Regions from separate parts of the Homo sapiens genome. Here region 2 is linked to region 1. The links are contacts of gene promoters, found by promoter capture Hi-C in blood cells and fetal thymus (Javierre and others, 2016). All regions are on one chromosome and are shown on one strand. Each heading gives the region's core, a stretch centred on a gene start or on the middle of the fragment in contact. The rest is flanking DNA. Distances are from core to core; before and after follow the strand shown.

Region 1 (4,084 bases), core at 1,039-3,538:
TGGTCTAAGGAATTCCCTCTAAGCTAAATCTGGTACTTCTCATATGTGGCTACTGCTCTTTTAAACTACTGTGTCCCTAAAGGGCTAAAAGGAAGAAAATCCTAACTCAACAAGTGAAGGTAGCAAGGCATAGTATTTGAATGGCTACCTTTCATTTTAACTCTACTTCCTAAATTCAAAATTGGATTTGGGTTTGTTTCAAGTTGTTCACAATTTACTAACGAAATGTGCATCTCTCATTCTTCCCCCAAAAGAAAGAAGTCATCCACTCCAGCTACATATAAGTCTCCAATTTCTATACGTGAAAACCGAAATACCACTCATTGAAAAAAAAATGTACAGAGAATTGGCAGGCTGCATGTTTATGTAAACCTTCAGAAAACATGGAAACACGCAGCCCCAACTCACCAGGAAAATCAACACTTCTGATCAAACTATTTTGTGACATTTTATGTCTTTTATACATTTCACTTCATATCCAGTATTCCAGTTTTGCACCGGCGTGCCTGTATCAACCCCAAATCGCCTGAGAGCAATCTAGTACTGTAGCAGAACAGTTTCAACATGAAGAGTTCTGCTCATTGCCTGTGGCGTGGTCCTCGAAACACCTGAATCAAACATTGATTCCCCTCCTCCTGCTATTTAAAACCGAGGGACGTCAGGCTTGGGTAGCAGGTAAAGAAAAGCCACAATAATCAAACAAACAAGCAACCAAAATACCCGAACACGGAACACGCTAAGAACAAAGGAAACACAAGAGTGTGAACAGGAAATGAAGCAACTCTATACACATAAATACCTTCTGGGGCCGCCAACGTAGGTAAAAGTAAAGGTGGAGTCAGAGTATCTGAAATCTGAAACAGAAAGTCCCGTCAAAAGCTACCCCTGGAGTGGATTTGTTTTAACCCCGATCAGGACTTGAGCCCCACATTCGGTGGTGTCAGGGGAGGCCTGGCCGGGCAGAAGGCAAGGGCTAGAGGGCGGCGAGGTCCCTCTGCGCCGCGTCCGAGGGGATGCGGCGCGCCCCCGACTGGGTGCAGCGGGAGGCCGCCCCCCGCAACAAGTGCCGGGTGCCATGGCAACAGCGGGAATTTCCCGATAGGGGAGGCCGGAAGCAGCCTCAGCCGGGCTCGCGGTAGCGAAAGCAAAATCCCGGGGGAGCAAAATGGACGAAAGGCGACCCCCAGGCAGGGGCGCTGGGTGCCTTGGGAATCCGAGGAATCCCTTCTCTTTGCCAGTCGGAGGGGACTAGAGGGAGCCGAAGGGGCCGGAGATGGGCCGAGCGCTGCCCCCCGGGGGTCCTCGGCGCCGGGCGCAGCTTACAAGCGCAGCGCAGCGCAGCAGGCTCCATTCCCGGCCGCCGCCGCTCAGCCCATTGCGCAAACCAACCCCGCTCTGCCGCCGCTGCTGGAACCCAGGAAGCGTGCTTGGAGGCTTCGGGCACTACGCGGGGCTGGAAATACCACGCACTGCCCCTTCGCCTAGACCCCCGCTCCGGCCACGCGGGCTCTGCCCTCAAAGCTGGTGGCTGCCTCAGACTTGGCGGTGGGGGAGGGGAAGGGGAGAGGCTGGCGCCCCCTCCCCCTTTTGGCTCCCGCGCTCGTTGCAGCAGCTGTTGCCAAATGAACCCCAGAATGGGGACGTGCAACCCTCCACCCCACCCCCAGCCACAGACGTCGCGGTCAGAAAACTGGGAAGGGGGCGCTGGGTCCGAGGTTCTGGAAAAGCAAGAACTCACCTGCAAACAGGCAGTCCTTCTCAGCTCTGGACTTCTGGATCACGACGTCGATATCCTTCTGAATTCGCTCTTGCCTTGAACACATCCCCATTAAATAAATCCCTGGAAAAGAAGCAGCCGCTATTTCCACCCCACCCCACCCCCCTCGCACGCTTCCAGCTTTCGTAAATATTCAGTTAAAAATGAAACCTCTGGCCGAGGCAGGGGCTGAAGGCGAAGTGGTTTCGGAAGTGATCCTGGGTGAGAGAAGAGGAGGAGGAGGAGGGGGAGGAGGAGGAGGAGGGGGAGGTCGGCTTTGCATTCCCAGATGTGACCGCCCAGCTGCTGCTCGCCGCTGCTGGATTCCAATTTCCTCCCCTTCTGACAATGGATGGTGATGACACCAAGTCTCACTTTCTCCCTCACCCGCCCGGACCAACGGCCGTGGGGGCCGAGGTGCCGGGGACAGCCAGAGAGCAATCACCGGCTGGGCGGCGGGCGCCGGCGAGGGGCGAGCCCCGCTCCGGCTCACGCGCGCACACCCCTCACGGCTCGCACGCCGGCCTTCCACACCCGCGCACACTCGCGCCCGCGGGCGGCGGCAGCCGTGCCCAGGCTGCTGCAGCGCCGCCCGCCCGCCGCAGACCCTCCGCGCCCGCCGCCTAGTCACCCCGCCGGCCGCGGGCTGCCGGGGCTCGCAGAGTATTAGCCATCCCGGGCGGGAGCCGCTTCTCCCCACACCGACCTCCACTCGCGCCGGGAGCTGAGCGGTCGTGAAGACTCCCTGGGGCTCCCAGCCTTCCCTCTCCGCGCCCCTCCCCCCATCACTTTTATGAATTCGACTCCACTTTCTAAAGGAATTATAGTCTTGTGGCAAACCCAAACCGGAGTGGCTGGGAGGGGGAAAAGGGGGGAAAAGAAAATCTTTAAAAATTAAAAAAATAATAAAACGAACAAATCTTTCCTTATTGCCACATCACATAACACGGAAAAGGCCTTAAAATTACTCCAGACGTGCACCCTCCCCTTCCCTCAGTGCCTGAGTCTTTTTCCTCCAGATCGAAGTAGTTCAGCCCTTTTGGGGCGCCGTTTACGAAACACAGCCCCTTTTGAGGGACTTCCTCCTCTTGAAACTCACCAGTTCTCCCTTCCTAGGTGTTTCTGTTCATGAGAAATGGTCAGAATCAACTGGCACGTTCCAGGGTCTTCCTAAAAGATGGAAACCTGTTTGGCTTGATTTTTAAAACCACCTCCTTTGACAGTCAAGGGAAAGCTACAATCCAGGTGTTCAGAAATGAGATACTGCTCTGATTCTCACTTTCTGTTCTGCCTAAGGACACCCCAGGCTGACGTAGCTGCCCCACCTCTATATTGGTTTATGCCCTAGGAGAGGTCTCCAGCAGGCACTTTTCTTGTTGATCTTTTCTCCACTGAGAAGGCTCCCGCCAGTAGACCATGACTCCTTTTGCTTTGCATACTCAGTGCCATGTACAGTGCCTGGAATACAGGAGGGTGGCCTAAATGTTGGCTGAATGCACGAATGGTCATTTCTTGCAGCCTCTTTTCATTACCCTGTCTCATCACTTTTCTTATCAGCATAAGTGCCCAAGAGTTGCCAAACTGTTTCAGACCCTTAATCAATTTAGTTCTGATTCTGACCGTGACAACATGATGTTCAGCACGGTAGGAATGACTGCCATCCCTGAAGGAGTCTTAAGATTCTGTAGAATCAATGAAAGATCCTATGTTCTAACTCCTTTATCTTTCAGGAAACAAATTACAAAATAATTTCCTTGTCCAGTCATATTCACTATGAGTTACAAAAGGAAACATTCTGCATTATTGAGATCCACTGCAGCCTTTGATGTAGTAAAGCCACAGTCACAACAGTCTATATCTCCTGCTCAGTCCTCTCCTGAAATGCTTCCTGTTTAGGGTAGGACAGGTTCAAGCCCTTTGTCCTTCCTGGATATGTTGCTTTGTGTAGGCCCTTTGGCTGCCAAAAATGCTCTCTTCTCTTCCACATCACCACTGAGAATCATGAGTATTTCTTCTTCCATTATGTGCTTTAATTTCTCTGAAAGGCTGAAAGTCTATTAACTCACAAGAATTTATTTTATAGTTATCTAGCCACAAGGCTTGCATCTTCCAAGTAGAACCCTTACTACAAATAAATGTGAAATAGTTTTAAAGCTACCAAATATTTTTTTGTCTGGATGAGCTCTTAGTTTACTACTCACTCCTTAAAATAGGCCTTCTTGTGACTTGTCCTATATTTGATTTTTTTTTAAGCTTCATGGGCTGCCCTGTTTTGGTTAAACAAAGCTAACCTCACCCTGTTCATGCCCTTAAGGTGTGATGTATTTA
Region 2 (4,084 bases), core at 1,071-3,570, 100 kb before region 1:
TTTGCCAATTTTATGGGAGGGAAACAACTTTTTTTTTTCTTTTGAACTTATTTACATTGGCAAAACGCTGGTACGTTTACAGGCAGGAAGATTAAAAAAAAAAATCAGTACGACCCTTATCTACAACTGTTTTCCCCATAAATAGTTTTTCAGATTACTTCAACAGAATTTACCATAAAGGAATAATCAGAACGTGCATATATGCTTTTAAAACCTCTTACATGTGAATTTCTAAGTATTTTGTATATGATGTCTTAAATGACCTTTTGGTTAAAAGTATCTTCCCAATTTCTAACACTCCAAAAAAAGGAAATGAAGGGTTGCAAGTGTTCCTCTTCTTCAACATAGCAGAACATGAATAAAGAATTTTAAGGAGGCAGAGGCCTAAAGGTTTGCAATTAACTGGATTCTGCAGGTGTAGATCTATAAATAGTTATACTTTTTTCTTTGTATGCCAGATTTCAAAGAATTCACAAATGACGCTGTGTATATGCAAACCCATTTCCGTTGTGATGCCCTTTTTATATAATGCCAGTAATTTCATATTTCCCACTGAGAGATTACAAAGCGTGATTACAGTTTGTCCAGATGCAGCGACCCAGTCATCAGGATTGCTTCTATATCTGAATAACTTTCAGTGGCCCAGGATCTCATGAATAGCAAATGCAGAATCAAGTTGAATGCTTGAAATATGACTACAACTTGAATTGTGAAGCTAGACATCTGATTGTGTCCTGAATGCAGTATTCGGTATATAATAACTCAAAATAATTTCATGTGCTGCCTATATTTATTCACTGTGAAAAGATCACATCAAATTGATGAATTCAAATTTTTTTAATATGAGGGAAACAATACAGAAATGATCTAACGAAATTGCTTCATTCTGGTCTGAAAAGAATGCCTCCACAAATGTTCTTTCCCGACATGTAGTGACATATTAAATTCAGGGTGAGCTACTCTTTTAATCTACATTTCTTGAAATCTGGTAATTTGATTTTGGATATTTAAATGTGACTTAGTTCATTTAAGCATATATGTATAAAGTTTTTTTTTTCAATGAATATGGACTTTGAGCCACTGTGTTAGAATTCTTAGCAATTTGTTCTCCTATTTTTAATGGAACTACTCAAGACAATATCCTCACTCGTGAGACACTCACATACACACTTACAATATATTAAATGTTGGAGCATCTATGTTGGTCCTCCTTTGTCTATAAAACTTCAGCTTATTCATTACACTGTTATGATGTTTTATAATGAAACCTGATCAAAATCAGCAGTCATTGTGTTGGTTATGAAAATATATTTCAGATATCTAGCCTTGTCTTATTAACTGTCAGGGAACACACACACACACACACACACATATATGTATATACACATACGTGCATGCATGCAACTCTACCACATGTTCCTAGGAAGTAAGCCTCTATTGCTACTTGTTTATTTCTTCTTTCAACAACTGGATGGTTATATTTTGAGAAGACAGATATTTTGTGAAGATACATACACCTTCCCATGTCATCTGAAACTCAACAGCTTGCATGTCTATCTCTGCATGCCTACTCAATGTGTGGTTTTTGCCCAGCGTGGGAGAGATGTTTGTGAATGGGCCAAGAAATATGCAAACTCAGTAGTCAGGAAGAAATTCTGGCAGATTAAAGCATTTGCAAGACTGCATCCAAGGTAGCTATAAATTTCTCTAAAGAACAACAGGGCTGAGAAAAATTTAAAAATTAGATCCAGATAAGAAAGGAAGCTCATGTAAAACTGTGCATAAGAGGTACAGTATAAACAACTGCTACAACTCTGCAGTCAGCTTAAAAATCTTCAGTTTTGCTAGGAGAAAGCCCTTGCGTTGGGAGTAGTGGTTAGTGTCTAGGATCTGAGCACCTGAAGCTTACATCTAGATTATGTCCCCGTGGTTTGGGAAAATGCTCTCTCCTTTCTTTCCCCTCTGTGCCTCCTGTCATCACTTCCCTGATTTTCAGAGTCAGACTGTTTTTATTCTTTGGCTTGGAGGCAGAGGATGAAGACTCAATATGCTAGAAAGGAGATTACAAAATATTCAATCCAAGATCTTTTTTTGATGAATGATATACATCTATGTAGGCTGAGGTATGTTGTGGTAATAAGCATTCTTAAAATCTCAGTGGCTCAAAACGAAAAAAGATTTCTATCTCACTCCTACCTTATTGTTAATATAGAATTGGGGGTTAGGGAGGGGCAGCTCACTGTCGTCACTAAGGGGCCCAAGGAAGCAGAGCTGAGGGGACATGGGAACTAACACACTAGCACTTAGCTCACATATGACTGGCCAAAATTAGTGATATATCCATGCCTAACACTAAAGAGTGAAAGGAAATACAATCCTACCATAAGACCAGAACAGGAGAACCAGAAGATATGTAAGCAGTCCTACTGGCCACTACAAATGAGAATTCAGAAATCCAGAGAATGTAAAGCAGTGCATTCTGAGGTATGCATTTTTTTTCTTTCCTTTCATTTACCATTTTTGTTTTTTAAAGGAGATACATGTTTGGTGGGTATGAGTAACGTGATATACGTTCCTTAAGCCACCCCAAATTCTCAGAATGCTCGTTTCCCAAACGTTACCCTCAAAAGGCCCAATTACAATTGTCTGTGCACAAAAAGTGATCGAAATAGTCACAACAGTTGACTATTCACAATAGAACAGTCACAATAGAACAGTCACAATTTTAGAAGCTTCCAGCCTACATTAAGCATTAGTCACAATAAAAAGGTTAGACTATTACTCATATGACTTAAATTTTCTAAATGAAAGATGGCATGATAATAAGGTAAAGAATATTTTATATTAAATGGAAGTTTTAAATTTCACAAAGAAACTATCAGAATCATTTCTTTCCTAAACAAATATGAATTTTCTGATCTGTAATTCCCTTTCTAAAAATACTAATTTCAATTTATTTTCCAATGACACTGATCAATTTTATTTTCATAAATATATAGGGAGGTACATTTACAATGAAAAACATAAAATGCGTTTTGTTGAATGATTCAAGATGAGACTTATTCAGACTGATCGCAAAGTTCATGTTGCCCCAAGACCTAACTCACTTCCTATACAAAAGACTATAAATCAGAATTATCATCAATGTTTACATGTATGATTCAACAGCCAGTAGTAGGCTTTTGGATAGAATGGTGAGGTAGAATTGTCATTACCTACTTAAGTAATATATCTATCATCACTCACTTTTTCTACACCTTCTTTCAGCCTTCTTTAAGAGGATTTTGCCTCAATAATCTCAGGATTTTGCCTAGGCAATCTCAGTTACTTCCATCTCTTACAGAGAACTTAGATGTGGTTAGCTGCCTTTCTCATTAGACGTTGCTTTAAAAAAAAAAATTACTCCTAATAGCCTGTTGTGCATATTGAGTTACTTTTGCTCTTCAAACTTCATTAAGTTCTTGTAAGCCCCAATTAGGTAAAAGAACAGCTAATTAGAACAGTCTGTTTTCAACAGACTTAGAACTTTGCAAGGAAGATGATTTCAAGACCTTCTGCCTAACTACCCACCTCTTTTCCCTTGAATCCAAGCCTAAGTATTTGAAACTAGACAGTAAATTCATTCCCATTTAAGTAAATCAAACTAGTCCTGCTGTGATTCACCTTTGTACCATGAAGACTCTAGGAAGATATTTATTTTGGAAATATCCTCTACAGCTAGAGAAAATCTAGAGCAGGCAGGAACATGGCTTACATTCATTAAGATTTAAACTGGATCAAAACTATTACAAGTGAAAAGGGTTAAGGGGAAAAAATTCAAAACACTGATATGACTTTAGATACTTCATTTGACTGAATTTCCAAACATTTTTTAATCTAATTTCAGCAGCTAACAATTATCACTAACTTAATTAATAATAGAAAATACTGATACAGACCATCATAGGTACTTAACAAATGCTTGGTGAAGGAACAAAAAAAGACCTTCATCTATACATGGCAATATGACTGGGGCCTAGACAGCATGGAAAGATGTTTTAGAAAAATATTTAACTATAAAAGAAATAAACATGTGCTAAAGTTG

What was found. The method cuts DNA at HindIII sites, captures the fragments that hold promoters and counts their contacts. A CHiCAGO score of 5 or more calls a contact.
Region 2: a fragment that was not itself captured here is called in contact with the fragment with the promoter of PARP8 in region 1 in 11 of 17 cell types (activated CD4 T cells, neutrophils, M0 macrophages and 8 more); the score reaches 9.6 in activated CD4 T cells.

The regions. Positions count from the first base shown.
Region 1 is chr5:50,664,841-50,668,924 of GRCh38, reverse strand. PARP8 (poly(ADP-ribose) polymerase family member 8) reads right to left here and starts at 2,288. Exons shown (of 26, transcript NM_024615.4): 1 at 1,739-2,288; 2 at 800-854. The coding sequence starts at 1,829. RefSeq lists silencers at 1,164-1,493, 2,186-2,245, 2,296-2,445 and enhancers at 466-1,665, 1,101-2,013. The HindIII fragment of the contact is 4,109 bases long and covers 1-4,011 here.
Region 2 is chr5:50,765,299-50,769,382 of GRCh38, reverse strand. The region is part of intron 7 of PARP8 (poly(ADP-ribose) polymerase family member 8); the gene reads right to left. Among named protein-coding and RNA genes, the nearest start is that of PARP8, 100 kb to the right of the region's middle. The HindIII fragment of the contact is 828 bases long and covers 1,907-2,734 here.